Regions from separate parts of the Homo sapiens genome. Here regions 2, 3, 4, 5, 6 and 7 are each linked to region 1. The links are contacts of gene promoters, found by promoter capture Hi-C in blood cells and fetal thymus (Javierre and others, 2016). All regions are on one chromosome and are shown on one strand. The core of a region is centred on a gene start or on the middle of the fragment in contact, and the rest is flanking DNA. Distances in the headings are between cores, read along the strand shown. Region 1 holds the start of TMSB4X (thymosin beta 4 X-linked). Region 2 has its middle 100 kb from the start of EGFL6. Region 3 has its middle 110 kb from the start of LINC01203. Region 4 overlaps LOC124905248 (a long non-coding RNA gene). Region 5 overlaps LOC124905248 (a long non-coding RNA gene). Region 6 has its middle 15 kb from the start of LINC01203. Region 7 has its middle 3.1 kb from the start of GS1-600G8.3.

Region 1 (4,170 bases), core at 1,093-3,592:
TTTTGTAAGTGAAAATAATAATATATATTCATATGTATTAATTATATAGAAATAATATATAATAATATATAAATGTCTCTATAGGAGAAATAATATCAAGACACCTAAAATTTTTAATTAATTCTAAACACTAAGACAATTATTTTATTATTTTTCCTCAACCTTCCATCCTAAATCATACGAATAATAACAATAGAAAGAGCTTACTAATTGTCATGCACTGTCCGAAGCATTTACTCCTCCCAACAACCCTGTGAGGTCGGTGTTGCAATGAACCCATTTTACAGATGAGAAAACTCCAGCACAGAAAGATTCATTCACATGGCCAGAGTCATGCAACTTTTAAGAATATTCCTTTGGTTTGCATTTCCTTGTATCTGCACCACCCTTCCCTTTCCTGTCTCTCTAGGTCTCCTGACCGGTTGGCAGGTCAGTCCCAATCATGGGAACTCTTTTCCTTTAAGCAGTCGTCTCTCTTTCTCTTCCTCTCTGTTTCCACCTGCCCTCCATCAGTGTCTCAGCACAGTGGAAGGCTGCTTGCTACCGCACTGGAAAACTTCTCCAGACATTTCCAAGTTTGCATTCGTCCATCTCCTTTGGAGAATTGCTTCAGTGAGGCCTAACCCTTTCTGAGGAAAGGCCCTTGGGAGAAGAAGCCAGGAGAAGGTAGTGGCACTCCTTTGTCATCAGGAGACATTGGGAGGAAAGAAATGATTTTCGACAGCAGCTGGGTGAGGGGAAACAGAATCACAGAACCTGCGGAAACGGTGTCGGTACAACGGCAGCTGCCAGCTAAACGGGCGAAAAGGCACCCTGCAAGATCTTTTCTGTGTTTCAACGATGAAGTAGACTCCCAACATGGAACAGGGGCGGGGGGGCTGTTACCAGACAGGTGACATTTGGTGCATGCACGAACAGGTCCAGTGCCCCATTCGGAGGCCAGGAAGGCAGCCACCCAGCAGAGCATTAACTAGGGGACCAGACGGTCACCTGCCCCTGCTCACCCCCACCTCCTTCCTCCCCAGGAAAAAGGAAGTCAAGTAGATGGAGAAACGGGGAAGTCCAAGCTGCTGGCAGTGGCATTCAAGGGTCTATATATAAGGTTGACTCTAATCCCCAGCGAGACAAAAGCCTGTGCCATAAAAATGATTAGCAAGGGGTTTCTAAAAACATTTCCCCAGGCCACGGAAAAGGAGAAGGAATATTTTGCACACTGCCTTGTCTCTTAGAAATAATCACAGCTAGGCCTCTTTATAACCGGCGAGTCTTTTTCCTTTCACACGCCATTTGCAGGCGCGTGGCATGGTATTTGTAACTAATTTTCAGTAGCAAGTGGGTCACTGGTATTCACAGAGTCAGGTGCCATTTTGAAAACTGCTTCCCTCTACCCGAATCTCTTATATTTCCAGATGCAGATGCACTTCAGCGATGTCCTAGTGCTGGAAACGCTCCCTTGAAAATATAATTTGATTTTTGAATTTCATCTTAAGACATTAGAGATAATGTAACTGTAGTCTTTGGAATTCAACGCTGGCCTCCTTAGCCATCACTTTTAAAATTTATGAAAATAAGGAAGAGGAAGGTAAAGAACTTCCTCATTGTCCGGCAGTAAAGTCAATGGCAGAGCTTGAGCTTGACTTATTTTGCTAAGAGGGAGGTGTTTTACCCTATAAACTCCAAATTACCTTACACCCAGCAAATACTACTGTTGAGTGCTCACAAAAATTATGCTGATGAAACAATATGGATGTTTCAGTGATGAAACTTTCTCTTTTAAAATCACTTAAGGGTGCTTTACGTCCCACCCAAGGCAAGAGGAACGCCAGCGAGGAAGACAAAGAGGCCCGGGGTGGGGCGCATGCCCGCCACTGGACTGAAAGCTGAGTCACAGGAATCGTACCCCTGCAGCGGGCCAGGCCCTCCAGGGAGGGACACCGCGCCCTTGTGTGGAGATGTCCACAGTAGACAAAGGCAGTTTCGAAATAAAAGAATGCCTGTCACCCCAGGTGCCACCCCGACCCTTAGTTATTATGCACTGGTCCCCAAGAGCAATTTCTGCGCTGCTGTTGCAAAAATTCATCGTAATGAAATAAACGTAAAAGGGGAAAATGTGTTATGAAGTGTTGGAGGGTGCTTTGCTCATTTTTTTCGCCATCGTTGTGGTTAGGGTGCATGCACTAGTGGACCCCGGGTGGGGGTGGGGCTCCCCTCCCCAAAAGCCCGGCAGGCCTCCGGATGCCGTTCCGAGACGCGGCGCGAAGGAGTTAAGCGGGCCGGCGGGTGACATCACCTCATTTACATAGGAGCGCCCATAAAGCTGCGCCCGCCGCACCCCGCCCGACAACTCGGTGGTGGCCACTGCGCAGACCAGACTTCGCTCGTACTCGTGCGCCTCGCTTCGGTGAGCCCCAGGGCCCCTGCCTCCTTCCTCCTGCCGTCCTGCCTCCGTCCCCGCCCTTTCATCATCCGCGTCCCTGTGAAGGCATTCCCTAAATCCGAGCCCGAGTGGTTCTCCCCGGGAAGGCTACTTTGGGGAGCTGGGGGGATGCGAAACACCCTAGATACTGGATAATGGGGTGGGGAAATCGATGATTTAAGAACAAAACCGAAAAACTGGCGTTTTGCCGTGCCGCTCGGAGGGGACATTAAAAAATTTCTTAGTGTTTGCCCGCAAAGGTATTGTGCGTTGCCTTGGAGGCTGAGATATGGGGGAATAGACAAGTCCTTTGTTCTGAGGTTCATCTTCCGAGCCCCGAGCCTCCTCCCAGCCTCGGACGGCTGCGCGGGCTGCATCTGTGCAGCCTGGCGGCGGCGGGGCTGTGCTATGACATCTTTACAGTCCTTCTTGCAGAGACATGTGTGCCAGGGATGCCGAATTGCCGGGAGAGCAGGCAAGACCGGCTTCGGGGCGCGCGGCGGCCGCTTTGTGTGCGGGGCTGCATTGTGACGCGGGCGATGAAGCCGGTAGGGCGGTGGTCGGAAGCTCCAGCCGCGGCCGCCGCCTTTGTGAGAGGACTAGAAAGCCGGATCCGGCCCGCATCCTTGCGGAGAGGCCGCGGCTAGGAAATGGAAACGCTTTTCCTACCTGGGCTCCATTTTAGGAATTCTTGCCGATTTTTCCCACTTGAATTTGGAAGTGGCTTTCCTCTTCTTTCCTTGTCCTAGCCAGCCTTTAATTTTAAACGCTGTAATTAACAATTCGCAGTGGTCAATTTCCTTTATTCTGCAAGATTCGGCTTTGAGAGGCATCCGCCCTCTTTGGTCCACAGCGTTTTGAAATATGGGGAGGAGGGGCGCGGGGGGTGTCGCCTCTTTTTCTGTAGAAAGAGGAAGCTCGTGAGCGCGGAACGGCAGCAGTAGGAGAGCGAGAAGGGTTTTTTTCAGGCTGCGGGTCGGAGGGCAGAAGTGCAGTTCCCAGCCCAGAGACAGCGGGGCGGGTGGCTCTTCCTCACGCTCGCTCTTGGCTTGCTCCCTGCAGCTTTTCCTCCGCAACCATGTCTGACAAACCCGATATGGCTGAGATCGAGAAATTCGATAAGTCGAAACTGAAGAAGACAGAGACGCAAGAGAAAAATCCACTGCCTTCCAAAGAAAGTGAGCTCCGACCCACCCCCATCTTTAGAAAGGCTGGGTGGGAGCGGCCGGTGGGAGGGCGGGAGGCTGGGAGCGGCCGCGGGAAGAATTCGGGAGGGGGGAGTGCGGGGGAAGAGCCGACAGTTGATGAATGTGGCTTGCAAAGGTTAATTAAAAATGGTTTTGCAGCCAACAAACACGGGGCTTTAGTAATTTAGTAATGGAATATTTAATATGCCATATTAATATACAAACATTTATCCATTAAAATGTATTTCTATTTAGTATATTCAATATACATATTTTATTCCATTGTGGAATACCGTGTAGAATGTTTATGATTTGAAAAGATGCTTTAAATGAAAGCCCTTTAGTCTGTACTGAATCCTTTAATCATCTCCCTCCATCTTTTTTTTTTTTTTTTTTCTGGTCACAGCGATTGAACAGGAGAAGCAAGCAGGCGAATCGTAATGAGGCGTGCGCCGCCAATATGCACTGTACATTCCACAAGCATTGCCTTCTTATTTTACTTCTTTTAGCTGTTTAACTTTGTAAGATGCAAAGAGGTTGGATCAAGTTTAAATGACTGTGCTGCCC
Region 2 (4,170 bases), core at 424-2,923, 490 kb after region 1:
CTCTGTGTTCCCACCCAAATCTCATCTCGAATTGTAATCCCCATGTGTCATGGGAGAGACCTGGTGGGAGGTGATTGGATCATGAGGACAGTTTCCCCCATGCTGTTCTCGCTCACCAGAGTTGATGGTTTTAAAAGTGTTTGGCAGTTCCCCCTTTGCTCTCTTCTCTGTTTTGCCTGCTACCATGTAAGACATGCCTTGCTTTCCCTTCACCTTCCACTTTTTTTTTTTTTTTTTTTTTTTGAGATGGAGTCTCACTCTGTTGCCCAGACTGGAGCGCAGTGGTGCGATCTCGGCTCACTGAAGCCTCCACCTCCCAAGTTCAAGCAATTCTCCTGCCTCAGCTTCCTGAGTAGCTGGGATTACAGGCACACACCACCATGCCTGGCTAATTTGCTAATTTTTTAGTAGAGACAGGCTGGCTTTCACCATGTTGGCCAGGCTGGTCTTAAACTCCTGACCTCAAGTGATCTGCCCACCTCAGCTTCCCAAAGTGCTGGGATTACAGGCGTAAGCCACCGCACCCGGCCTCAGGTAGTATCTTTATAACAGTGTGAAAATGGACTAATACAGACAGTCTTTAAATTTAGCTTCAGCAGAACTTTCAGGGACTAGCAGAAAAAATGCTAATTTGAACCTGATGAACAAAGACCTGCATTGATGAAACCTCACAACCATTTATATCTCACATCTTCCCAATTCTATCACAAAGACCTAAAGTTCCTTTATGCCCTAAAACTATCAAAATGTATTTTGGGGCCTGAGTTTTTCCAAAAGTTGAGTTTCCATATCACTGGTTATGGTTAGATTCCATGTGGGAACTGGTACCTGCTTAGCATTTTAATTAATTAGTATTCTTGTTTGTGGTTTTCTTTTTCTTCAAAAATATTTCCTGAGTACTGTGCTGAAAAATGAACAAAAAAGAAAAAATTCATGCTCACTGCAAAGTATAAATTCCCCAGCTCTCTTCCTCTCATAATTCTTCCTCCAGAGTTCTTTTTTCACTGGCTCTGATTCCTCAAATAATCATTTGAAAGTAAACGGTATATGAAGAGGAAAATATGTCCCACACGAAGGTGATCATACTACCTCTCACAAATATCTATTGAGAGATACACAAATTGTTTGGGATTAATTACACATTGTTGTTATAGTCAGTGCACTCTTGATGTCTTATAGGCTTTTGTGGGGTCATCCAGGAGACCCATGCTACAAGGTCTGACAGGATTTTTCCCCTAGCTGCTCTGCATATCCACAGTCCTCTGACCTCATTGCAGTTCTCATTTGCAATGTTTTCTTAAATAGGTAGAAATGTTTCCTGCTCATTTTGCTTTTATACATTTGGCAAATACTATCTTGGCTTCCTCAGTGATCTTGTGTCTGGGTCTTCCCTCATCTTGGAACCAGAGCTGGCATTTTAATTATCCTGTAAATTCTGACCCCATTTCAAAGTGTAAGCTACCACATGATTTATTTAGTTCTTTTTCTTTTTTTAAAGGTAAGTGAGGGGTAGTTTGATAAATAATTTTTTAAGCTTAGGGGTTATTAGAATGTTTATGCTATATTTACTCCCTGCCTTGATACATAAAGTATTCTAAATGGCTCCATAGATCTGCTAAGATGAAATAGGTATAAAACTTAAAATTTGGGCCTTGCAAAAATACACATGGACAAAACCAAGGGAAAAATAGAAAAAAAAATTTATGCAGGCTCCACTCCAAAGATGAACCCAAAATTTGGCACTGAGCTTTCTTATGGCCCACTCAAAAAGGGAAAATATAGTCAAGTGCTTGATTCATGTTGTCTAAGAAATAAAGCTTGCCAGTAATTCTGAGGAAATAAAGTTTTTCCTAGCACATAGAATCTAGAAGAACGTTTCCATGCAGGTCTTCACATGGGCCACATCTTCATCACTTTTAGAATAAATGTGATTGCTGCTGTGCTAGGGGTGTTTATTAAAAGATCCCTGTGTCTGAAGCTAACAAGGGTAAATATCAATGCACTTCCCAGCAAAAGTAATTTTTCATGCAGGCCTCCGACAATGTGATCTAAATGTTTAGCTCTCCAGTGGTCTGCCAGGAATCAAATGTAGAGTGTCCAGATATGAATAGTCAGCTCATCCTTAAAATAAACTTCCATTAATATCATTTCTCTCAACAGAGTTCATCTTTTCATCATAATGTGTTAAACCAGGAAATATCAGTAGACAGTTCTGCAAAGGCTAAATGAAAAGGAAATTAGCTTAATTTGCAGTGTAAGACTTTCAGGTTTGTTACAAAGAATGTTGGGAGAGTGAGAACTGGCTTTTACAGTGGATTCCTATGAGAACAGATTTTTTTTTTCTTCCACACAACACTAGTGGAAGATTTCTTTTATTTTTTTTTTTTCTTTTGTTTTCGTGACAGAGTCTCACTCTGTCACCCAGGCTAGAGTGCAGTGGCACAGTCTTGGCTCACTGCAACCTCTGCCTCCTGGGTTCCAGTGGTTTTCCTGCCTCAGCCTCCCAAGTAGCTGGGATCACAGGCATGCGCTACCATGTCTGGCTAATTTTTCTATTTTAGTAGAGATGAAGTTTCTCCATGTTGGCAAGGCTGGTCTCAAACTCCTAACCTCAAGTGTGATCCACCCACCTAGGCCTCCCAAAGTTTTGGGGTTATAGGCATGAGCCACCATGCCCATCTCATAAGATTTTCAAAAAATAAGGTTTTTTTTTTTATCATTAAATCTTAAAGGATGGAAAAACCTGCATAAGGCCCTTCCTAATCCTACAACATAGTGATTGTGACAATTCATTTCCATTGTGTGAAAACATATGACATTTAATGATGATCGTCAACTCCTATGCGGGGTAGGGTGAAAGGCGCGAAAGGAAACATATTAGAAAAAGTGGCTCCTGGCCAACCCAGAGGTGATTTCATTTGGGGCTGGCTCAAGTTTCATAAGCCTAGAATCAAACTTGCAACCATCTGTTTGAGGTTCTGTGGGAACCAAGAATTCCAGAGCCCAGGGAAATGGGAGAGCATCCTAGGAATAGACCCTTCACTGAATCTTGTTTCCACTTCATGATAGAAAGCTCCCTAGAGCTGCCTTTCCCCTTGATTTTAGGGCTGGAGGAGGAGCTTAAGAAGCACCTTTGGAGCTCAAGCTTGGACTTCCTGTGGCCCTTTCCCACAGAAGAGCTAACTCTTGGAATGAGATCTTTGAACATTCCATATGAGCCTCCAAAGACCAAATGATCCAAAACAATTGCAATAGATCTGTCTAACGACCATATTGAATCCACCACCACTTCCAGTGTCAACAAAACCAAACTGCATACTACACCAGCAATTCTGTCTGGTTAAAAGAAGACCAACCATCTTCCAGTTTCTCTTGCCTAGAATCTCTCTCACCTAGCATCAATCTGTAGGAGACTGAATTACCAACTAGTCAAGGAAACTTTCAAAAATATAGGTGGGATGTGACAACTGTGGATATAAGTCTTAAAGCAATGTGGAAAATGGGCTGCCCAAATTGGAGTAACTTGCTGAGAATGTTCTCTCCATATGCCCAGCCCCACAGGTTCATCTACAAGAGGAGTATCTCTGATGTGAACTGCAAATTGTCTTGGGTTGGGTTCCTCAGAAACAGAGCATAAGATGGTGGTTCTTGGGCAAGTAATTTATTGGCAGATGGCTTGCAGGAGAAATCTGCATGGGAGTGAGGGAAGCAGGATTGGAAGAAAGCAAGGATGTGGTTTCAGGAGAAGTCCAGCATCTCTCTGCCTAATCACACTGGGAGCTCTGGAACATAAATAGGATAGTGGAGTCTGTCCCATCTTGAGGCAAGAGGGCTTTGGTAACCTGCATCTGTCATTCATTGGCTTCCAGCCACCCTGCATTCATGTGGGTGAGGGAGACCCCAAAGCATCTTCGGTGTAAGCAGCTTCAGTTGCTCAAGGACAGCTTCAGGAGCAGGCTTCAGGTGTGAGCTCTTAGCTGCAGCACCTATAGCAGTTTAGTGAAAGGAACCCCAAGTGTATCAGGCAAGACATCAACAGCAGCTACTAAACTAGCACTTCTCAAACTTGAGTGAGCACCGGAGTCCTCTGGAGCACTTGTTAAACACAACTTGTTGCACCTCACCCAGTTTCTGATTCAGTAAGTCTGGGATGAGGCCTAAGAATTTGCA
Region 3 (4,170 bases), core at 442-2,941, 470 kb after region 1:
AAGGAACTTACTAGAGCAATTTTATTTGAACCATTGGTGAAAAATTAAAGGTATTTAAGTGATAAGCAATCAAAAACATAAGTTATTGGTAAAATGCAAATGTTGCACATATTTTCAAAATAAAAGCAATTTATTGCTGTGAGAAACCATTTCTGGTAGTCTCTAGCCTTCCAGACATATACCTCATGCCCCTCAGCTGTTAGATCTGCTTGGAATCTGTATTAGTTTTCTATTGCTATATAACAAATGACCACAAACTGGGCAATTTACAACAACGTACATTTGTTATCTTGTAGTTTCTGTGGGTAAGGAGTCCAGGCATGGCTTAGCTGGATCCTCTACAAGAATGCAATCAAGGTGTCAGCTGGGCCTGGGTTCTCATCTGAAGGTTCAACTGGAGATGGATCTGTTTCCAAGCTCACATCATTGTCAGCAGCATTCAGTTCCTGGTGGATTGCTGGACTGAGGGCCTCAGTTTCTTGCAGACTCTCAGCTCCTCACTGTGTGGTCCTCTCCACATGACAGCATACAAAATGGCAGCTTGCTTCTTCAAAGCCAGCAAGGGAGAGAGAGTCTTCTAGCAAAACACATTAAAATCTTGCTTATGTAACATAATCACATATGTGAAATCACATACATCTGTCACGCTTGCTGTATTCTATTGCTTAGAAACAAGACATGTCCTGCCAATGCTCAAGGGGAGGGGAATGTACAAGGGTGTGAATCCCAGGAGGTAGAAATCATGAGGGCCACCCTAGAATCTGTCTGCCATAGGTAGTAAAGTTTGAGAAGCAAAGTCTTAAGCCATTACTGGCCATTAACATCTCAGCTGTAATAACTTACCAATCAAGAAACAGCAGAACTAAAGACCATTCCCTGGTATGGATCAGGAGACAATCTATTCACAGGGGAAGTTAACACTATGCCAGCTCAAATAATAATTGTGTGTGTCTGAATTCTCTTTTTTTTTTTTTTCTCTGAGACAGGGTCTTGCTTCATCACCCAGGCTGGAGTGCAGTAGTAAGACCATATAGCTCACTGCAGCCTCAAACTCCTGGGTTCAAGTGATCCTCTCACCTTGGCCTCCCAAAACACTGGGATTGTGGGCCTAAATTCTTTTTATTTCAAAAATAAAAGCACTGGAAAATAAAGCCCTTGGAAATACAAAAATGAGGGAAGGACAGAAGCTATAGGAGGTGTCCAGAATTGGTTGGAAAAATGAATAAGAAAACAGTAGGGAAAAACAGACTCATCTCCTCTCTAAAAGTATAAGCATCCTGCCCCCATCTCTGACCTTACTGATTACAAGACCCAATTCATTTTCCTTGCTAGATTGTATCTCACTTCTAAGATCTGATGGTATCGCTCATCCATGAGGTAGTTTAGCATGGTAATTACTTACATGGACTCTGCTACCCACTGCTTGGCTCTGATCCCTGTACTACCCCTTCTCAGGTAAATTATTCATACTCTCTGTGAATGCTTCCTGGCTGTAAAATAGGATCTTAGTAATGTCTACTTTGAAGAGTTGATGGAATGAAATGAGTTGCAACATGGACAGTGCTTAGAATAGTATCTAGACACAGTAAGTGCTTCGTACATTGTAGCCACTACTATTCTTATTTATTTATTTATTTATTTATTTATTTATTTATTTATTTTTGAAATGGAGTCTCATTCTGTCACCTAGGCTGAAGTACAGTGGCACAATCTTGGCTCACTGCAACCTCCACCTCCCGGGTTCAAGCAATTCTTCTGCCTCAGCCTCCCGAGTAGCTGGGATTACAGGCATGTGCCACCACGCCTGGCTAATTTTAGTATTTTTAGTAGAGACAGCATTTCTCCACATTAGCCAGGCTGGTCTTGAACCCCTGACCTCAGGTGATCTGCCCACCTCAGCCTCCCAATGTGCTAGGATTACAGGGGTGAGCCACCGTGCCCAGCCTACTATTATTCTTTGAACAGGTATTGATTGGGGGCCTGTTAAGTGTATATTTAGACCATCTCTTTCACCAACCAAATTAGTCTAGAGCCACTCACAGATTTCATCATGTGTTCGTATATTTGACAATGCCATTGTGATAGCCTTAGCAATGCAGTGCATGGCTTCTCTTGTTAAAAACAAAGGGATCTGGCTGGGCGCAGTGGCTCACGCCTGTAATCCCAGCACTTTGGGATGCTGAGGTAGGTGGATCACCTGAGGTAAGGAGTTCGAGACGAGCCTGGCCAACATGGCAAAACCTTGTCTCTGCTAAAAATACAAAAATTAGCCGGGCATGGTGGTGGGTACCTGTAATCCCAGCTACTCGGGAGGCTGAGGCAGGAGAATCACTTAAACCTGGGAGGCAGAGGTTGCAGTGAGCCGAGATCGCGCCACTGCACTTTAGCCTGGGCGACACAGTGAGACTCGGCCTCAAAAAATAAAAATAAAAATAAGGGGATCGAATGCATTACAAAGTTCTATATTGATCAACAATTACTGTAATTAATTGAAACAGAATTTAATAGCAGTGGTTCAGCCAATTTATTTTCTCCTTCTTCAAAAATAAGGAGGAAGACTCTCAGTCCCTCATCTTTCATTAGGAGTGTAGTCAGCCTCTAGAAAGCCTGGCCTGTAATGTAAAATCACCCACATCCACAGTGGTAGTCACCTTTTCTGCATTCCGACCATGAAATTCAGCCTCATGTTTATCCTTCATTTTCTGTCTCCTTTAGAATTTTTTTTATTTTTAAAGCTAGAGTCATGATAATGGTTCCAGTACTTATTTATTTATTTAGAGACAGGGTCTCACTCTTTCACCTAGGCTGGAGTGCAGTGGCACGATCAAGGTTCACTGCATCCTTGACCTCCCGGGCTCAAGTGATTCTCCTGCCTCAGCCTCCAGAGTAGCTGGGAACACAGGCACACACCACCATGCCTGGCTAATTTTTTTTTAGTTTTTGATACAGATGGGATCTCACTATTTTGCCCAGGCTGGTCTTGAACTCCTGAGTTCAAGCAGTCCTCCCACCTTGGCCTCCCAAAGTGCTGGGATTACAAGCGTGAGCCACTGAGCCCAGCCCAGTGCCAGTATTTAAAAGCATTTAGTCATAGTAACCTCTAGGGCCCAAAGAAAGCTATGAGATCTCATGCTTGTTACTCAGTTTGGGGATATATATAACTCCTGACATAGCACCCCCCTGCTCAATCTGGTAGCTCTCAAATTCTATTCACAGCTATATTTTTGTCTTTGCTTTACAAAATCCCTCACCTATTGCACTTCTGCAAAGATTGGTTTAAAGCAGTGTTTTTCAAACTTTAATACACACACCATCCTCTGTGGATCTCAGTGGAATCAGATTCTGATTTAATAGGTCTGAGGTGGGGCCCAAGGGTTGCATTTCTGACAAGCTCTCAAGTAATGCCCATGCTGCAGATCAAGGGACCACACTTTGAGTAGAAAGGATTTAAAGGACAGATGCCAAGCCCAGTTACAAAATCAAACTCAGATGAGCCTCTTGAAAGATTCCAAACCAATCTCAACTGTGAAGCCTGCTCTCAATGCTGAAATTCATCCCTGACTGCCCTGTGAGAACCACCTGTCATGGCATCACCTGAACAGAGGAGTCCTGTGGGTGATGGATTCCAAGAAAAAGTATTGGTCTCATCTATAATCAGCCTTTGAAAAGCAAAAGCTGTTGTTAAGCCAAAGAGGATCCTACCTTATATTCCTGGTTGCGAGTGTTGGGTTTTGGAGGAGGTTGAGTTTTGGAGAGGGCCTGGTGTCCACTGGAGAATCATCTGCAAAATTGCTTGGTGTGTGGGGAAAACAAACAAACAAACAAACAAACAAAAACAAAAAACCCTTTATACATCTGGGATCCCAGAAGTGTTTTTCTGTTTGTGCTCAGAAGAGAAAGCGCATCCCACTCTCCTACTCTGATTTCGAGACTGTTTCCTGAGGGTGGCATATGTTTTCTCACCTTCTGCCAAGCACAGAAAATGACCACAAATGGGCCCGGAGATGGCTTTGAGCTTTGATCTTTCGGAGCTCATATTAAGTAGTTGAAAAATATGCCCCATGAATCAATCAATGGGTCCAAAAGATTTGAAGCTAATTCCTCAAAATGGGAACGAGATGATGACTAGGGCACAAATATGCTTGAAGTAGCTCATTTCAGTAAGCCTTG
Region 4 (4,170 bases), core at 1,149-3,648, 430 kb after region 1:
TCAACTCCGTAGAATCAAAGAAAAATCTCTCTGCCTCTTGAGGCATGTAGGATGAGGGATGGACTGGCAAGGGGAAATGGCTACAGGCCAACTCAATGGAACTGCCTTTCCACACATCTTGCTTCTCTCCTTTAGATCCTTGTGTCTTTGGGTGTCACCTTCTTTCACTAGAGAGCCACAAAAACCCAGGCTCACGCCACTCACATTAAAGGAATTGAGACAGCCAAGTAAAAGGGGCTCCCCAGAGAACCTCCAGCCAGCCTTTGCACTGGGAGAAGTGCGCACTAGGGTAGAGCCTTGGAAAGTTCAAGCCATTTGCAGCGGGGAGGAGCCTGGCCTCTCCTGTTCCTGGGTGGTAAGCTGGGATTCAATCAGTGAAGCAGGAAACCTGCTAGCAGGACCCTCACTTTGCTGAGAGTCCCTGTTTCCCGTTTTTTACCTTTCTGCCGAATAAATTCCATTTTTTCCTCCCTTCTATGCGTCTGCGAGCCTAATCTTTCCTGGTCTGTGACAAGAACCCAGATTTTCCTGCAACAGAATGAGCCAATCAGACATTGATTTATCACCACTCCCAGGGCCTTCTCGTCTTTTGTTTCCCCTTCTTGGATTACTCTGTCCCCTGCTCCCCCTAAATCTGTTTCTCTCAGATGAAATCCAAGGACATATGCTCAGGTGTCCCAAAGTTCCCTATGGGAATTATTAAATTTGGTTCATTCTAAATTCATCATAAAAATATAATAACAGGAGGGAGGAGCCAAGATGGTCAAATAGGAACAGTTCCGGTCTGCAGCTCCCAGCAAGACTAACACAGAAGGCAGGTGATTTCTGAATTTCCAACTGAGATACCCAGTTCATCTCATTGAGACTGGTTAGGCAGTGGATCCAATCCACAGAGGGCAAGCAGAAGCAGGGTGGGGCATCTCTTTACCCAGGAAGTGCAAGGAGCCAGGGACCTCCCTACCCAAGCCAAGGAAAGCCATGAGGGACTGTGCTACCCAGCTGATACCCACGGTTTTTGCAGTCTGCAGATCAGGAGATTCCCTTGCGTTCCTACACTACCAGGGCCCTGGGTTTCAAGCACAAAACTGGGCAGCTGTTTGGGCAGACACGGAGCTAGCTGCAGAAGTATTTTTTCATACCCTAGTGGCGCCCAGAACCCCAGAGAGACAGAACCGTTCACTCTCCTGGAAAGTGGGCTGAAGCCAGGGAGCCAAGTGGTCTAGCGCAGCAGGTCCCACTCCCATGGAAGCCAGCAAGCTAAGAACCACCGGCTTGAAATTCTTGCTGCCAGCACAGCAGTCTGAAGTTGGCCTGGGACAATTGAGCTTGGTAGGGGGAGGGGCGTCCTCCATTACTGAGGCTTTAGTAGGAGGTTTTCCCCTGACAGTGCTAAGGAGGCTGTGAGGTCTGGGATGGGCGCAGCAAAGTGGCTGTGGCCAGACTGCTTCTCTAGATTCCTCCTCACTGAGCAGGGCATCTCTGAAGGGAAAGTAACAGCCCCAGTCAGGGGCTTACAGACAAAACCCCCATCTCCCTCGGACAGAGCACCTGGGGGAAGGGGCGGCTGTGGGTGCAGCTTCAGCAGATTTAATCGTTCCTGCCTGCTGGCTCTGAAGAGAGCAGCTGATCCTGACAAGAGGCATTCTGCCAGCACAGTGCACCAGCTCTGCTAAGGGACAGACTTCCTCCTTAAGTGGGCCCCTGGCCCCCGGGCCTCCTGACTGGGAGAAACCTCCCAACAGGAGTCAACAGACATCTACAGGAGAGCTCCGGCTGGCATCAGGCCAGTGCCGCTCTGGGAGGGAGCTTCCAGAGGAAGGAGCAGGCAGCAATCTTTGCTGTTCTGCAGCCTCCACTGGTGATACCCAGGCGAACAAGGTCTGGAGTGGACCTCCAGCAAACTGCAGCAGACCTGCAGAAGAGGGGCCTGTTAGGAGAAAAACTAACAAACAGAAAGCAACAACATCAATATAAAGGACCCCCCACACAAAAACCCCATCCAAAGTTCATCAGCCTCAAAGATCAAAGGTAGATAAATCTACAAAGATGAGGAAAAACAAGTGCAAAAATGCTGAAAATTCCAAACACCAGAAGGCCTCTTCTCCTGCAAATGATCGCAACTCCTCTCTAGCAAGGGCACAAAACTGGACAGAGAATGAGACCGAAGAATTGACAGAAGTAGGCTTCAGAAGCTGGGTAATAACAAACTCCTCTGAGCTAAAGGAGCATGTTCTAACCCAATGCAAGGAAGCTATGAACCTTCAAAAAAGGCTACAGGAACTGCTAACTAGAATAACCAATTTAGACAGGAACATAAATGACCTGATAGAGCTAAAAAACACAGCACGAGAACTTCATGAAGCATACACAAGTATCAATAGCTGAATCAATCAAGCCAAAGAAAGGATATCAGAGACTGAAGATCAACTTACTGAAATAAGGTGTGAAGACGAGATTAGAGAAAAAATAAAGAAAAGGAATGAACAAAGCCTCCAAGAAACCCTGCAAGCCAGAAGAGAGTGGGGGCCAATATTCAACATTCTTAAAGAAAAGAATTTTCAACCCAGAATTTCATATCCAGCCAAACTAAACTTCATAGGTGAAGGAGAAATAAAATCCTTTCCAGACAAGCAAATGCTGGGGGATTTTGTCACCACCAGGCCTGCCTTACAAGAGCTCCTGAAGAAAGCACTAAATATGGAAAGGAAAAACTGGTACCAGCCACTGCAAAAACACACCAAAATATAAAGACCAATGACACTATGAAGAAACTACAACAACTAATATGTAAAATAACCAGCTGGCATCATGATGACAGGATCAAATTCACACATAACAATATTAACCTTAAATGCAAATGTGCTAAATGTCCCAATTAAAAGACACAGATGGCAAACTGGATAGAGTCAAGACCCACTGGTGTGCTGTATTCAGGAGACCCATCTAACATGCAAAGACACACATAGGCTCAAAATAAAGGGATGGAGAAATATTTACCAAGCAAATGGAAGGCAAAAAAAGAGCAGGGGTTGCAATCCTAGTCTCTGATAAAACAGACTTTAAACCAAGAAAGGTCAAAAGACACAAAGAAGGCCATTACATAATGGTAAAGGGATCAATGCAACAAGAAGAGCTAAGTATCCTAAATATATATGCACCCAACACAGGAGCACCCAGATTCATAAAGCAACTTTGTAGAGACCTACAAAAAGACTTAGACTTCCACACAATAATAGTAGGAGATTTTAACACCCCACTATCAATATTAGATAGATCAACAAGGCAGAAAATTAACAAGGATATACAGGACTTGAACTCAGCTCTGGACCAAGCGGACCTAATAGACATCTACAGAATTCTCCACCCCAAATCAATAGAATATACATTCTTCTCAGTGCCACATAGCACGTATTCTAAAATTGGCCATATAATTGGAAGTAATACACTCCTCAGCAAATGCAAAAGAATGGAAATCATTACAAACAGTCTCTCAGACCACAGTATAATCAAATTAGAACTCAGGATTAAGAAACTCGCTCAAAACCACAGAACTACATGGAAACTGAACAACCTGTTCCTGAATGACTACTGGGTAAATAATGAAATTCAGGCAGAAATAAACAAGTTCTTTGAAACCAATGAGAACAAAGAGACAACGTACCAGAATCTCTGGAACACATCTAAAGCAGTGTTAAGAGGGAAATTTATAGCACTAAATGCCCACAAGAGAAAGCTAGAAAGATCTAAAATAGACACCCTAACATCACAATTAAAAGAACTAGAGAAGCAACTGCAAACAAATTCAAAAGGTAGCAGAAGACAAGAAATAACTAAGATCAGAGCAGAACTGAAGGAGGTAGAGACACAAAAAACTGTTCAAAAAAATCAATGAATCGAGGAGCTGGTTTTTTGGAAAGATTAACAAAATAGATGGACCACTAGCTAGACCAGTAAAGAAGAAAAGAGAAGAATCAAATAGACACAATAAAAAATGATAAAGGGAATATCACCACTGATACCACAGAAATACAAACCACCATCAGAGAATACTACAAACACCTCTACGCAAGTAAACTAGAAAATCTAGAAGAAATGGACAAATTCCTGGACACACACACCCTCCCAAGACTAAACCAGGAAGAAGTCGAATCCCTGAATAGACCAATAACA
Region 5 (4,170 bases), core at 585-3,084, 410 kb after region 1:
TGATTAGACCTTCAACTAGCCTTTCAGGAAATAATTCTCTCATTTGGGAGCAAAGAGAGTACCTTTCTCCCCATACTCAGTACATTATATCTGTTCCCTTCTTAATGCCTTTCTTTTTTCCTCTCTTCCATGACGCAGAAGTAACTGGATATTTATGAAGACAGCCTCCAAGACCTTTCATATTCCCCCACATTTGTGTGTATCCCTGACACATAATACTTCAATTCCCTCAGCCTTAAAATCAGGCAAGTGTGCCTACATCACAGGATTGTTGCAGGATTAAATGCAATGCTTTATTAAGTGAGTTGGAGACTCTGGGTTTATTCATTTCCTAAGGGACTTTCTGACACTAAAACACACACTAGCCAAATAGTGCTTCTCTTCCAAAATGGCAAATTACTTCAAGCAAAAGCCCTTCAGACTCAGCAGGGAAGAAGTAAAGAGTCAAATGTTACATCCACCAATACCAGGAGAATCCAGGGAAGTCTCTTTAGTTTCTTTTTCTTGTATTCCTTATATTGCTGTTAGATTATGGATGAAGGAAAAAAACTCCCAGATCCTAAAGCATGCTGACTGGACCCAAATAAATGACATTATGAGAGCCTGTATTAGTTATCTATTGCCTTCCAACAAATTACCCAAAAATATTGTGGCTCAAAATAATAAACATTTATTATCTCAGTTTCTGGGGGTCAGGAATTCAGGAGCAGCTTAGCTGGGTGGTTCTGGCACAGAGTCTCTCATGAGGTCGTAGTCAAGATGTTGGCTGGAGTGACAGTCATCTGAAGCCTTGACTGGGGTTGGTGGATCGTCTTCCAAGACGGGTTACTCACATGGTTGTTGGCAAGAGGTCTCAGTTCCTCCCCAAGTGGACCTTTTCATAGGGCTGCTTGAGTGTCTTCATGGCATGGCAGCTATGATATAAGAGAGACAGCAAAGAGGAAGTTGCCATGCTGACACCATCTAGTCTCAGAAGCCACACACCACCACTGCTGCCATATTCTATTAGTTAGAAGTGAGTCACTAAGTCTAGCCCATGCTCAAGTGGAAGAGAATGAGTCTCCACCCTTGAAAGGGAAAAGTTTCAAATGTGTTGACCTATTTTAAAGCTACCACAGGGCAGCTGTCTGGGTGGCTCCTTCATCAGTTTTCTTGCAACACTTCATATCAGCTCTCTGTACCTGCCAAACTTCAATGATTATAAATGTATGAGTCTAGTCATGTATAAAAAGCTCTGAAAAATTAGGTAGAAGAAACTTCAAATAGTTTAATAAGCTTTGCATTGCATTTTCATTCCCCTTTGGTTGGATTTTCATTGGAATGTGGATTTCTATAAACTACATATTAAAACTCCCTTTATGGGTCATTGCTAATCTAAAACTTATGGTGATTTAGACAGGGATTGGATTATAAAATAACTTTGTCCATAAGCACAAATAAAAAAGTGTAAATGAGATCTGAGGAACAGTGTTTACATACTTTAATGAGGTCATTGCTTTCAGGCACTTTATGGGCAAACTTTCCATTTAATTAAATCACAGAGGCCAGATTTAAGCTGACACTTTAAAATGTTCATTAAAAAAATTATCCTTTTTGTACCCTGGACCCAAGGGAAAGATCATGAAGTATGTGCTATATGCACAACTATGTCCTGAGAACAATGAATCAGCTGTTTTTTAAGGCTATTTTTCTTTGTTTGCATTTTCCCCTAAATTCTATTGTAAAAAATTTTAAGCATGCAGAAAAATTGAAAGAATAACACAATAAACACTTGGTTATCCTCCACCTAGATTTGATCATTTTGACATTTTGCCAAATTTGCTAATTCTCTCTCTCTGCACACACACACACACACACACACACACACACACACACACACACAGAGAGAGACATAGATGCACAAAGCCTATAAAAGCATCGCCTTTTTGGAGGTGCTGACCCATTTGAAAGTAAGTTGCAAATAATACCATCACTCTTCACCCGTAAATATATCTCCCAAGGAAAGGGGACATTCTCCTATATAACCTTAATACCGTTGTCATATTTAAGAAGATTAATAATAATCCCATTACATGGCCTTCGCATGCAAATTTTCCAGCTGACAAGTCAAAAAGACGCAGAAGCCAGCTTAAGGGTGTTCCTACTGATGAAATTAGGAAAAATTTGAGCATCAGAATGAATGACAATAAAGGAGTATAGCCCATTAAATGAAAGAAGGATCTGTGTGTCCATATTTATATAAATAAATGGTGGGGAGGCAAGGGGAAAAAACATTGTCCTTGTAGTAGAAAACCACCTATTAAATAGAAGGAACAATGGGATAAGAAAAATTACGGTCATAATAAAAATCGATTTAGGCAAGAATCATCAATGGATACTAAAATTAGTGGGTGGAAGCTTGAGGAGTATATTGTATTAGTTTCCTACTACTGCTGTGACAACTTACCACAAATTTTGTGGCTAAAACAATGCAGATTTATTATCTCACAATTCTGTAGGTTAGAAGTCCAATGCAAGTCTCCCAAGGCTAACGCCACCATGTTAGCAGGGCTGCATTCCTTTCTGAAGCTCTAGGGAAGAAGCCCTTTCCTTGCCATTTCCAACATCTAGAGGTATATATATAGCGTATTTTTATTTTCTCTATTTTTAATGCTTTGACATCTTGGGGGCTTGGTGACCCTGGAGCTCTTCCAAGGGCTAGCTAATCCCTAGAGATAGTAGAGGATTTGACTGCAAGTGTGCCTTTCTAATGCAAACCAACTAATCCAAAGCCCACACCCACAACTGCCTCCTCTATTGAGCTCTGACACCCTGGGCCACCACTACCCTGCCTTAATCACCCAGGCTAGGTGCCAGACACTAGAGACAGCCCTTACACCTCAGAGTCCACTGAAATTATTCAAACTAGCTGATCTAAACCTGCTTACCCTGCCTCACCCATTTCTTCCAATGGAAACCACAATAAAGGCTCTTGCCCACATTTTCACCTTGCACTCTCTGCCTCCTGACCAACTGATAATAGTTTGGATGTGTGTCCCTGCCCAAGTCTCATATTGAAATGTAATACTCAGTGTTGGAGTTGGGGCCTGGTGGGAGGTGATTGGATCATGGGGGCAGTTTTCTCATTAATGGCTTGGCACCATCCCCCTTGGTATTGTCCTCATGATAGTGAGTTCTTGTTAGGTGTGGGTGTTTAAAAGTGTGTAGCACCTCCTCCCTCACTCTCTTGCTCCTGCTCTGGCCATGTGACATGCCTGCTCCCCCTTTCCATCATGATTGTAAGTTTCCTGAGGCCTCCCCAGAAGCTCAGCAGATACAGCATCATGCTTCCTATAACAGCCTGCAAAACCATGAACTAATTAAACCTCTTTTCTTTACAAATTACCCGGCCTGAGGTATTTCTTTTTTTCTTCTTCTTCTTTTTTCTTTTTTTTTTTTTTGAGATGGAGTTTTGCTCTTTCACCCAGGCTGGAGTGCAGTGGCATGATCTCGGCTGATTGCAACCTCCATCTTCTGGTTTCAAGCGATTCTCCAGCCTCAGCCTCCCGAGTAGCTGGGATTACAGGTCCACGCCACTACCACCTGGCTAATTTTTGTATTTTTAGTAGAGACGGGGTTTCACCATGTTGGCCAGGCTCATCTTGAACTCCTGACCTTGTGATCCAACTGCCTCAGCCTCCCAAAGTGCTGGGATTACAGGGCGTGAGCCACCACGCCCAGCCCCTGAGGTATTTCTTTATAGCAGTGTGAGGACGAACTAAAACACCAAGCCCAGTGCTTCCTCATGTAGCCCCCATAATTTGGCATGTCCCTACTCTTGGGATCTGCGAGTATAACAAAGTATTTTTTCAATGGAAATAAACGCCTGGTCTGTCGGCCTCACTGTATCTGAATAATAATAAGATCCACATTTTAAAACAAAGGCCACCCATGTTTCTTAGCTCATGATCCCCTTCTTCTGTCTTCACAGCCAGCAAATGATGGGTCAAGTCCTTCTCACTTTGCATAATTCTAATTTTTGCTTCTGTCATTATAACTCCTTCTCTGATTCTGATTCATTTGCCTGCCTCTGGAACTTTTAAGGACCCTTGTGATTACCTTGGGCCCACCAGCATAATCTTCCTCTCAGCTGATTAGCAACCTTAATTCTGTCTGTAACTTTTATTCAAC
Region 6 (4,170 bases), core at 554-3,053, 370 kb after region 1:
ATATTCTTTGAAGGCATGGTTTGTAATGGCTGCAGATTGTTCATAGCAACAATAATTGTTTTAAGGACAAGGTGAAGCACACCAGAAGGAATTCTTTCATTCACTTATTTTAAAGTACTACTTATTGAGTACTTACTACATGTCAGGCACTGTTTGAGGCACTAGGAAAACAACTGTAACAAAATAGATAAAGCCCCAATATCTATCAACAGGTAATTGAATAAGCAAGTTGTAGTATATCCATACAATGGAATACTACTCAGCAATAAAAAAGAACTAATTACTGATACATACTACAATGTGGATGAAACTCAAAAACATTATGCTAAGTGAAAGGAGTGACACCAAAAACTACATGTTGTATGATTGCATTTATATAAAAATCCAGATAATTCAAAGAAGTCTTACAGTGACAGAAAGCAGATCAGTGATTGCCAAGGAGGAGGGCACGGAGAGAGAGAAAAGAAGTATAAGGGGCATGAGAAACCTTTTGTGAGTGATAGATGTGTTCATGAATGTGTACATATGTCAAAACTTTAAATATGTGCAGTTTACTGCATGTCAATGATACCTCCGTAGAGCTGTTTAAAAAGTGATGGGAGTACAGTGAGGGCTGAAGAAGTGGTGGACAAGCATTCTGAGCAGAAGGAAAAGCACATGCAAAGAAATAGAGGCATTTTGTTTAATAAGCCTGTAGGACTTACCATCTGCGAGGCAGTGTTTCAAGAGCTGTATAAATATTAACTCATTTTATCCTAACAACATCCCTCTGAGATAAGTACTATTAATGCCATCCTTATTTTGCAGATAAATTGAGGCACAGAATTACTAAGTAACTTGCCCAAAGGAACAGTAATTGTCAAAGCTGGGCTTTGAATCCAAGAGCCTAGGTCTAGAGTTCATAGTCTTAATTACTACAACATGCTGCCTCTACATGTCTGGGAACATATTTGGTAATATCTGTGTGTATATTTGAAAAGTCACATGACTATAGCCAAAAGTGGAGAGGGAAGAGAGGGAGGGGAAGACCTTGGAAATGTAGGTTGAGGTAAGCTCATTTAAGTATGCGAAGTCCAGGCCATATAATGAGAAGATATATTGGAACCCTCCTGAGTGATATCTTTATTTTGAATGGAAAAATCCATTCATTATCAAAGGCTAGTTATATCCTCAATGGAACACATCTGAAAGCAAAATTTCCACCACCCTTATAAAGGACTTAGTCCTGAATGCACAAATTGATCAGATAGTGTATTATGCTCCCAAAGTAGCTTAAGAATTAGGTGACATTATTCGCAAAAAGATACACGTTCCGTTTCAAAGCATGCATTCACATGCTTCCTTTTTTTTTTTTTTTTTTTTTTTAAGACGGAGTCTCACTCTGTCGCCCAGGCTGAGTACAGTGGCGTGATCTCGGCTCACTGCAACCTCCGCCTCCTGGGTTCAAGCGATTCTCCTGCCTCAGCCTCTCGAGTAGCTGGGACTACAGGCGCATGCCACCACGCCTGGCTAATTTTTTGTATTTTTAGTAGAGACGGGGTTTCTCCGTGTTAGCCAGGATGGTCTCCATCTCCTGACCCTGTGATCCGCCCGCCTCGGCCTCCCAAAGTGCTGGGATTATAGGCATGAGCCACCTTGCCTGGCCAGGCTTCCTTTTAAATCCGCTTCAGGAGACGCAGATGGAAGGAGAAAGGCCGAAGCACAAAGGCTCCCTATCAACACTTACAGAACTGCTGTTGCTTTTCTCTCTGGCTTTAAGAGAGATCACCTACAAAATCGTATTTGTGAAAGCTGAATCTGGCTGCCAAAGAATCCAGGGCTTGAAGCTAAATCTCTAAGGTCATGAATTGTCTTCTTATGCACTCCATGCCAGTCAGAACTCACCGATGTGCAGAGAGAGCTCACATCTTACCATTTCACAAACTTCATCAATAGCACATCTATCTCCCCAGGGCTCTGCACATTGCCAGAGAATCCCATCACCCTGAATTATTTCCCTTCTCTCTCCTTCCTCCTTCCTCCTTCATCCTAGACCCTCTAACTGCTCAGTAGACTCCAGTAGACTCTTAACCAAGCCCCACCCCCAGAGAACTGGTTTCCAAAGATGGCTTGGAGACAGTATGCCCAATTCCACAGTAGATTACAGTTTTTTGTTTCATTTTGTGTTTATCGGCAAAATGACATATAGGTCACTTCAACTTGTGGAAAATTCCTGATCCACTACAAGTATATTCAAATAAATCTTTCAGAAGTAGGAAATCTTATTACAAGCTACCCTCATGCACAGTGAACAGGGAAAGGAAGTGGGCTAGAACAAGAAGTCTGCTGCAAGGGAGAAATCCAGACTGCTAATTCTACCACATCACCAACTTTCTGTGGACTCACACCAAGGGAATTCTTCTTCCGAGAGCTCAATTTCCGCATGTGTAGAATAAGCTGAGGAGGGTGGGCGAGGGTCTTGGGACCTCCCCTAATCTTCATTGCATGGCCCTGGTGCATTTACTATGGGAAATGAGAATTCAGGCTCTGTCTCTGCCCCACCTATGGTAGATATATGGTCCCTCAAGTCTCCCTTCACCTGAGTAGTCCCATTCATCCAGGCACATCTAGAAGACAAAAATACTATTACTGCTGCACCAACAGCCTGCAGTGATTGGTTTTACTTTTTCAAGCCAGAGCCCAGCTGGCTGTGAAACACCAAAGAGAGGAGGGCTCTGTGTTTATAGCTCAACTATGAAGATGAGTTCACGTCAAGCATATTTGTCAGCTCATCTTATTCTGACACAGGCCCAAAGAACCGGGCTTGTGGGAAGTGCAAGGAGAAGAGTCGGGACTCTGATAAAAAAGATGGGTCTTTTTGAAATATTTGTCCAAGGCTGGTTCTTTGCATATATAAAACACTATATTATTTAAGTCGTCTTCACATTAATGATCTCACTAGAGGCTCAGAGGATAACATAATTCCATTTAACAAATGTGGAAATTAAAACAGAGTTATGAATGCTATACCAAGTTCACACTATTTAGTGAAAGAGGTGGAGCTAAAACCCTAGGGACCTGATCCCAAGCCCAGTCTTATTGCAGCAAATTGGCCCAAACTGTGATCAGGGAACCGTGGCACTGTGGGATGCCAATAGGTGTTATGCAAAGCAAATAATAAATAAAATTATGGAAGAAATTAAAGGCTTCAGGATCAAAAAGATTTGGAAAGTTTTTGATTAAACAAAGTCCAGCATTTTACAGGACTTCTCAGAGACTTGAACATATTATTATCACTGCAAAGTTTCAAGAGTTTGGGATATAGCACTTTCCCAAATCAAGACTACATAACCCATTTTTAGGGATGTTTGACGTAACTAGTATTCTTGAGGACATGCTTTGAGAAACTTTCCTAGGTCAACTGTGGGTTACATCCAGTCGTGAGTGATACCACAGCCCCTTGACCTGGTCATTCTCGAGGCTGAGTGGTATTGCATCTAGGGACACAGAATTAGAACAGAAGCTCATTTGAAATATGGAAAATATTTCGTGTTCATAAATAGTCACTAGTGTTCTCTTTCTTGGTTTTGTTGTTGTTGTTGTTGGTTTTTGTTGTTTTTTGAGACAGTGTCTTGCTCTGTCTCCCAGGCTGGAGTGCAGTGCCACGATCATAGCTCACTGCAGCCTTGAACTCCTGGGCTCAAACAGTCTTCCCTAGTAGCTGGGACTACAGGTGCGTGCCACCATGCCTAGCTAATATTTTTTATTTTTTTGTAGAGATGGAGGTCTCACTGTGTTGCCGAGGCTGGTCTCGAGTTCCTAGGCTCAAGCAATCCTTCCTCCTTGGCCTTCTAAGGTGCTGGGATTACAGGTGTAAGCCCCTGTGCCCATCTTGTCACTAATACTCTCTAGGGGAGGGTCATTCTTCCCCACTCTGTTGATGTTTGACTTGGCCGCATGACTTGCTTTGGTCAAAATATGAGAGTGGACTTGTCACTAATACTCTCTAGGGGAGGGTCATTCTTCCCCACTCTATTGATGTTTGACTTGGCTACATGACTTGCTTTGGTCAAAATATGAGAGTGGACACGACGTGTGGGACTTCTGGGCAGAAGATTTTGAGCCAGCACGCGGTTTGCCATGTGCATTTCCCTCTGCCATCATGACCAACCATGGTTCAAATAGAAATAG
Region 7 (4,170 bases), core at 902-3,401, 330 kb after region 1:
TCCTCTTGCTCAAAGCAGAGGAGATTTCTCTCCCATATGATTTTTACTTTCGGTGGGGCACCTAGTGGTAAATCCCACAAAAGTGTGGAGCTTCCTAAAACTGGGCCATCAGGAGTTTTTAAATCTCAAGTTAGTCTGCACTCAGCCTTCAGCAGTTTATCAATTACCATTTAAGTGTTCCTACCAGTTACTGGTTCCAGAAGCCTCTGCTCTTGGTAAACTGTAATTCTTTGTATTTACACATCTCTACAGTTTTGGGGGTGGCAGTTTGCCCTGTGACCTCAATTCTCTGGTAGATTTAAGAAAAGTTGTTGATTGTTAGCTTGTTCAGCATTTTTCTTGCTGTGAGAACAGGAATGTTGACTTCTAAGCTCTTTGCATATCAGAGCTAATCAGGAAGCATGACCGGTATACAACTAGAGGAAGGGTGCTTAAATCTAAGTGGAATTAGCCTATCTATGGTTCATGGCAATCATGCATATTGATTACAGCCAGACGCCACTGATTCTTTCATCAAACCAACTTTTCTCCTAGAATTGCATTCTATGAATATAATATTTTGTTGAGTAGTTAGTCAAATTAAATGCAGTTTTCAAAAGGGGAATCTTTTAGGGAGATATGGCCTTATGGTTTGAACCAGATTTCATTTCCACTGTATCAAATCCCAGTGGCCTTCTCAGTGGCAGAATGGGTTTTTCACAAATTCTCTGTATTGTAGTTGTTAATTCTTAAGTAAAGTAACTCTGGAATGTGCTTTCTTTGGCTTATAAGTAGACCTCCTCTCCACCTTATGAGTTTCCAACTCTTTGCCCTTGAATTAGACACATGTTGGTAGATTGTAGCCTAAGGCCTACTACTTACTAGTACTTGATAAAATCTTCTCCCTAGGATGAATGGGCAGTGGACTAAAGACAAGAATTACAACTTTTTAATCAAAGTGGCTGAATCCATAACTATATCTTTCTAAATTAAGCCTGTTTTGTTATGAACTGTCTCTAGATTACCATTAGCAATGTTGTTGGTCGGATGATTTGGAGAAAATGAAAGAACATCATGATTTTTATTTTCCTTCTTTCTATAATCCAATGATTCTCAACTAGGGGCAGTTTTACTCCTGCAGGGACATTTGGCAATGTCTGGAGACGTTTCTAATTGTCACACCTAGAGAAGTGATTGCTATTGGTGTCTTGTGGGTAGAGGCCAGGGATGCTGCTAAACATCCTACAACACACAGGACAGTTCCCATAACAAATAATTATCCACAAAAAGTTATCTGGCCCAAATTGTCAGTAGGGCGGAGGTAAAGAAGCCCTGCTAGAATCTGAGAAATTAGCCACCATGGCTTCTTTGTCTATACTAGGATCCTAAAGATCTCATTATTTTTATCTCTTTATTAATTTCTGTATTACAAAGATAATATTTTTCTCTGGACTATTTTCTCATTTGACCAAGGAAGTTAGTCTTGGAATCCTGCCCCACGAAGCTTACAGGTCAGTAATTCACAGTATAATCTCCTTATTGGAGTGGAGGCCTATGGGTGCTGGAGTCCTAAGAGTTAAACACCTTTGCACAATTATAGTGGTTTAGTGTGCAGCTTATACAAACAAAAATATTATCTGTACCTTTAATTTGTAGTTTCCTTGTGTTATAGTAATAATACAGAGCAAATCTTGTGTTATAGTAATAATACAAAGAAACTACAAATTAAAGGTACAGATAAAATTTCGAAAATAGCCTTAGTGGAAGAATGAGAACCAAGCTCTTTTGACCTGTTGAGCTTCACATATGGTTTACAGATGCTCTCCAATTTCATCCTCATAACAGCCTCACCAGACAATCTTGTTCTTGTCAGACAAAGAGTCAAGAAGAGAACAGAATGATACTTTGAAGATAATTTTATCCTGTTCCTGTTAATTAGTCAAATATGTGCCTTGTATAAATTTACAACTTACACAGCGTCTACAGAGAAATATAAAAATCACTCATTATTATACTCTCAGAGATAACTGTTTAGTGTATTTCTTTGCTACTTATTTTTTTTTTGCATGTAAATGCATTTTAAGTGTAATTGCATTTATTCTGTGTACATCACCTTTATCTTTTCCCCTCCCCTCAGTATCATTTCATGGGCATTTTAGGAGGTCAGTTGATATTTTCTTTCTTTTTCAGATTTGATAAGCTAATTTTTTTTATTTCAATAGATTTTTGGGGAACAGGTGGTGGTTGGGTTACATGAGTAAGTTCTTTAGTGGTGATTTCTGAGATTTTGGTGTACCCATTACCCAAGCAGCATACACTTGAGTTGATATTTGATATTTTCTAAAGTATGATATTTAATGATTTTAAATACTTCATCATATGACTACTTCATATGTTTAATCATTCCCCTTGATAAGTGGCAACATTTTTCTGTATGAAAGAAACAAACCAAAAAACAAACAAACAAACAAAACAGAGAAGAAAAGTGCCTGAAGCACACTGGTATATTGAAACAGCAAAATTCAACAACAAAAACAAAAAATACCACCAGCTATATGAAAAACAAACCACAAATCTTTGACTTCTCATCATACCTAACAATACTGGGCTTTGTAAATATCCGTTAAATTATATACAAATCCGTGTACGCAGATAATGATATTTTTCACTGTGCCCAGAAAATTTGATTGTTGTAGTGTCTGCTTCTAAAAACGGGTAAGATATAATAGTGTTTCATATTTAAGATAAATAGTATAGCTTAGTAGTGGAAGCCTGTTTCGGGGGGTGGTTGATTTTTTTTTTTAGGTTCAAAAATAGTAATTTTAGTATCCCAGGAGTTCCAAGCTTATATAAAATAAAATAATTGTTATTAATATCTATACTGGTATATATAGGATATATGTTATATAATACAGTTCATCCTTGAACAACATGAGTGTTAGGAATACCGGCCCCCACACAGCCGAAAATGTGTGTAACTTTTGACTCCCTCCAAATTTACCTACTAAAAGCCTACTGGTGACCGGAAGCCTAACTGGTAACATAAACAGTTGGTTAACGCATATTTTGCATGTTATATGTATTATACACTGTAGTCTTACAATAAAGTAAGCTAGAGAAAAGAAAATCATAAGGAAGAAAGAATATATTTACCATTAAGTGGAAGTGGCTCATGATAAAGGTCTTCATCCTCACTGTCTTTGTGTTAAGTAGACAAAGGAGGAGGAGGAAGAGGATAGGTTGATCTCGCTGCCTTGGGGTGGCAGAGGCAGAAGGAAATCTGCATAAAAGTGGACCTGCACAGCAACCCTTGTTCTTCAAGGGTCCACTGCATATATCATATATAAAAATAACAGTTACATAGTATTGCAATTATATCCAGACATAATAGGCAAGACATGAGACATAAAATATAGAATTAATTTTGGAAGTCATCTAAATCATGCTCTGAGGGAAGGTACAAGGCTACTAAAGGCAAAGAGCCTTGCTAAGTCAGGGTGTGGCATAACTGAAAGCCCAAATGCCAGACTTTGTCCTCTGCTTAGCCTAAACCAGAGGTCAGATGTCTCTTGTCGCCAGATGTTGATAAACACAGAGAGGTAAGCTCTTCAGTTACCCTATCACCACCTTACTAATACATATGACTGCAAAACGTTGCCTTCATGTAAGTCAGAATATGAAGGAAAAGCCCCTAATGAATATGATTTCATGAACTTTGGACATAAAAACTCACTTGGTAGTACATTATAATTTTAAATCACATTTAATTCCCTGCCAGCCAGGAAATAATTCCATGGGAAGTCAATCAATGAAAGTTAACAAAATCATTACTAGAAAAAAAGGTAATATTTTTCATTTTCAAAAAGTAAAGGGTTGGGTTGAATGAGAAGTAGATATAGGAGACAGAGCAGCATTCTCAGGTGTTGTTCATGCCCCTGCCATTGTTTTAATTATGGCCTCAATATTCTTTCTCATGGCTGATGGTTGACTTTGGTGAGTAGAAGTAGGTAGTAGCTAAGAATAATCATGAAAAAATAGAACATTTTCTTTAAAAAGGAAAAATTGCCTAATGATATATCAGTTTTGTATCTACAATCACCATAGAACATTTAGGTTATTTGTACTCTATTATCAGGAAAGATTGGGGAAAAGTGGAGTGGCAAAGAGAAATAAAGAAGTATTAATTGGAAA

Evidence for each region. The method cuts DNA at HindIII sites, captures the fragments that hold promoters and counts their contacts. A CHiCAGO score of 5 or more calls a contact.
Region 2: a fragment that was not itself captured here is called in contact with the fragment with the promoter of TMSB4X in region 1 in 16 of 17 cell types (naive B cells, activated CD4 T cells, total B cells and 13 more); the score reaches 16.5 in naive B cells.
Region 3: a contact is called between a fragment that was not itself captured here and the fragment with the promoter of TMSB4X in region 1, in 4 of 17 cell types (total B cells, naive B cells, naive CD8 T cells and 1 more). The highest score is 9.7, in total B cells.
Region 4: a contact is called between a fragment that was not itself captured here and the fragment with the promoter of TMSB4X in region 1, in 5 of 17 cell types (naive B cells, total CD8 T cells, activated CD4 T cells and 2 more). The highest score is 9.5, in naive B cells.
Region 5: a contact is called between a fragment that was not itself captured here and the fragment with the promoter of TMSB4X in region 1, in 6 of 17 cell types (M1 macrophages, activated CD4 T cells, endothelial precursors and 3 more). The highest score is 9.6, in M1 macrophages.
Region 6: a contact is called between a fragment that was not itself captured here and the fragment with the promoter of TMSB4X in region 1, in 4 of 17 cell types (total B cells, activated CD4 T cells, naive B cells and 1 more). The highest score is 6.7, in total B cells.
Region 7: a fragment that was not itself captured here is called in contact with the fragment with the promoter of TMSB4X in region 1 in 4 of 17 cell types (M1 macrophages, monocytes, total B cells and 1 more); the score reaches 8.3 in M1 macrophages.

Annotation. Positions count from the first base shown.
Region 1 is chrX:12,972,768-12,976,937 of GRCh38, forward strand. It overlaps TMSB4X (thymosin beta 4 X-linked), which reads left to right and starts at 2,343. Exons shown (of 3, transcript NM_021109.4): 1 at 2,343-2,401; 2 at 3,479-3,594; 3 at 4,010-4,170. The coding sequence starts at 3,495. The coding sequence ends at 4,044. RefSeq lists enhancers at 780-849, 860-1,119, 1,140-1,259, 1,383-2,222, 3,062-3,900. The HindIII fragment of the contact is 8,223 bases long and covers 1-4,170 here.
Region 2 is chrX:13,465,342-13,469,511 of GRCh38, forward strand. No RefSeq gene overlaps it. Among named protein-coding and RNA genes, the nearest start is that of EGFL6, 100 kb to the right of the region's middle. The HindIII fragment of the contact is 283 bases long and covers 1,533-1,815 here.
Region 3 is chrX:13,444,896-13,449,065 of GRCh38, forward strand. No RefSeq gene overlaps it. Among named protein-coding and RNA genes, the nearest start is that of LINC01203, 110 kb to the left of the region's middle. The HindIII fragment of the contact is 5,808 bases long and covers 1-4,170 here.
Region 4 is chrX:13,403,249-13,407,418 of GRCh38, forward strand. The region is part of intron 1 of LOC124905248 (a long non-coding RNA gene); the gene reads right to left. Among named protein-coding and RNA genes, the nearest start is that of LINC01203, 70 kb to the left of the region's middle. The HindIII fragment of the contact is 8,917 bases long and covers 1-4,170 here.
Region 5 is chrX:13,386,904-13,391,073 of GRCh38, forward strand. LOC124905248 (a long non-coding RNA gene) reads right to left here. Exons shown (of 2, transcript XR_007068395.1): 2 at 648-914. Among named protein-coding and RNA genes, the nearest start is that of LINC01203, 54 kb to the left of the region's middle. RefSeq lists a silencer at 1,034-1,133. The HindIII fragment of the contact is 1,122 bases long and covers 1,274-2,395 here.
Region 6 is chrX:13,348,029-13,352,198 of GRCh38, forward strand. No RefSeq gene overlaps it. Among named protein-coding and RNA genes, the nearest start is that of LINC01203, 15 kb to the left of the region's middle. The HindIII fragment of the contact is 8,192 bases long and covers 1-4,170 here.
Region 7 is chrX:13,305,437-13,309,606 of GRCh38, forward strand. No RefSeq gene overlaps it. Among named protein-coding and RNA genes, the nearest start is that of GS1-600G8.3, 3.1 kb to the right of the region's middle. The HindIII fragment of the contact is 1,340 bases long and covers 1,482-2,821 here.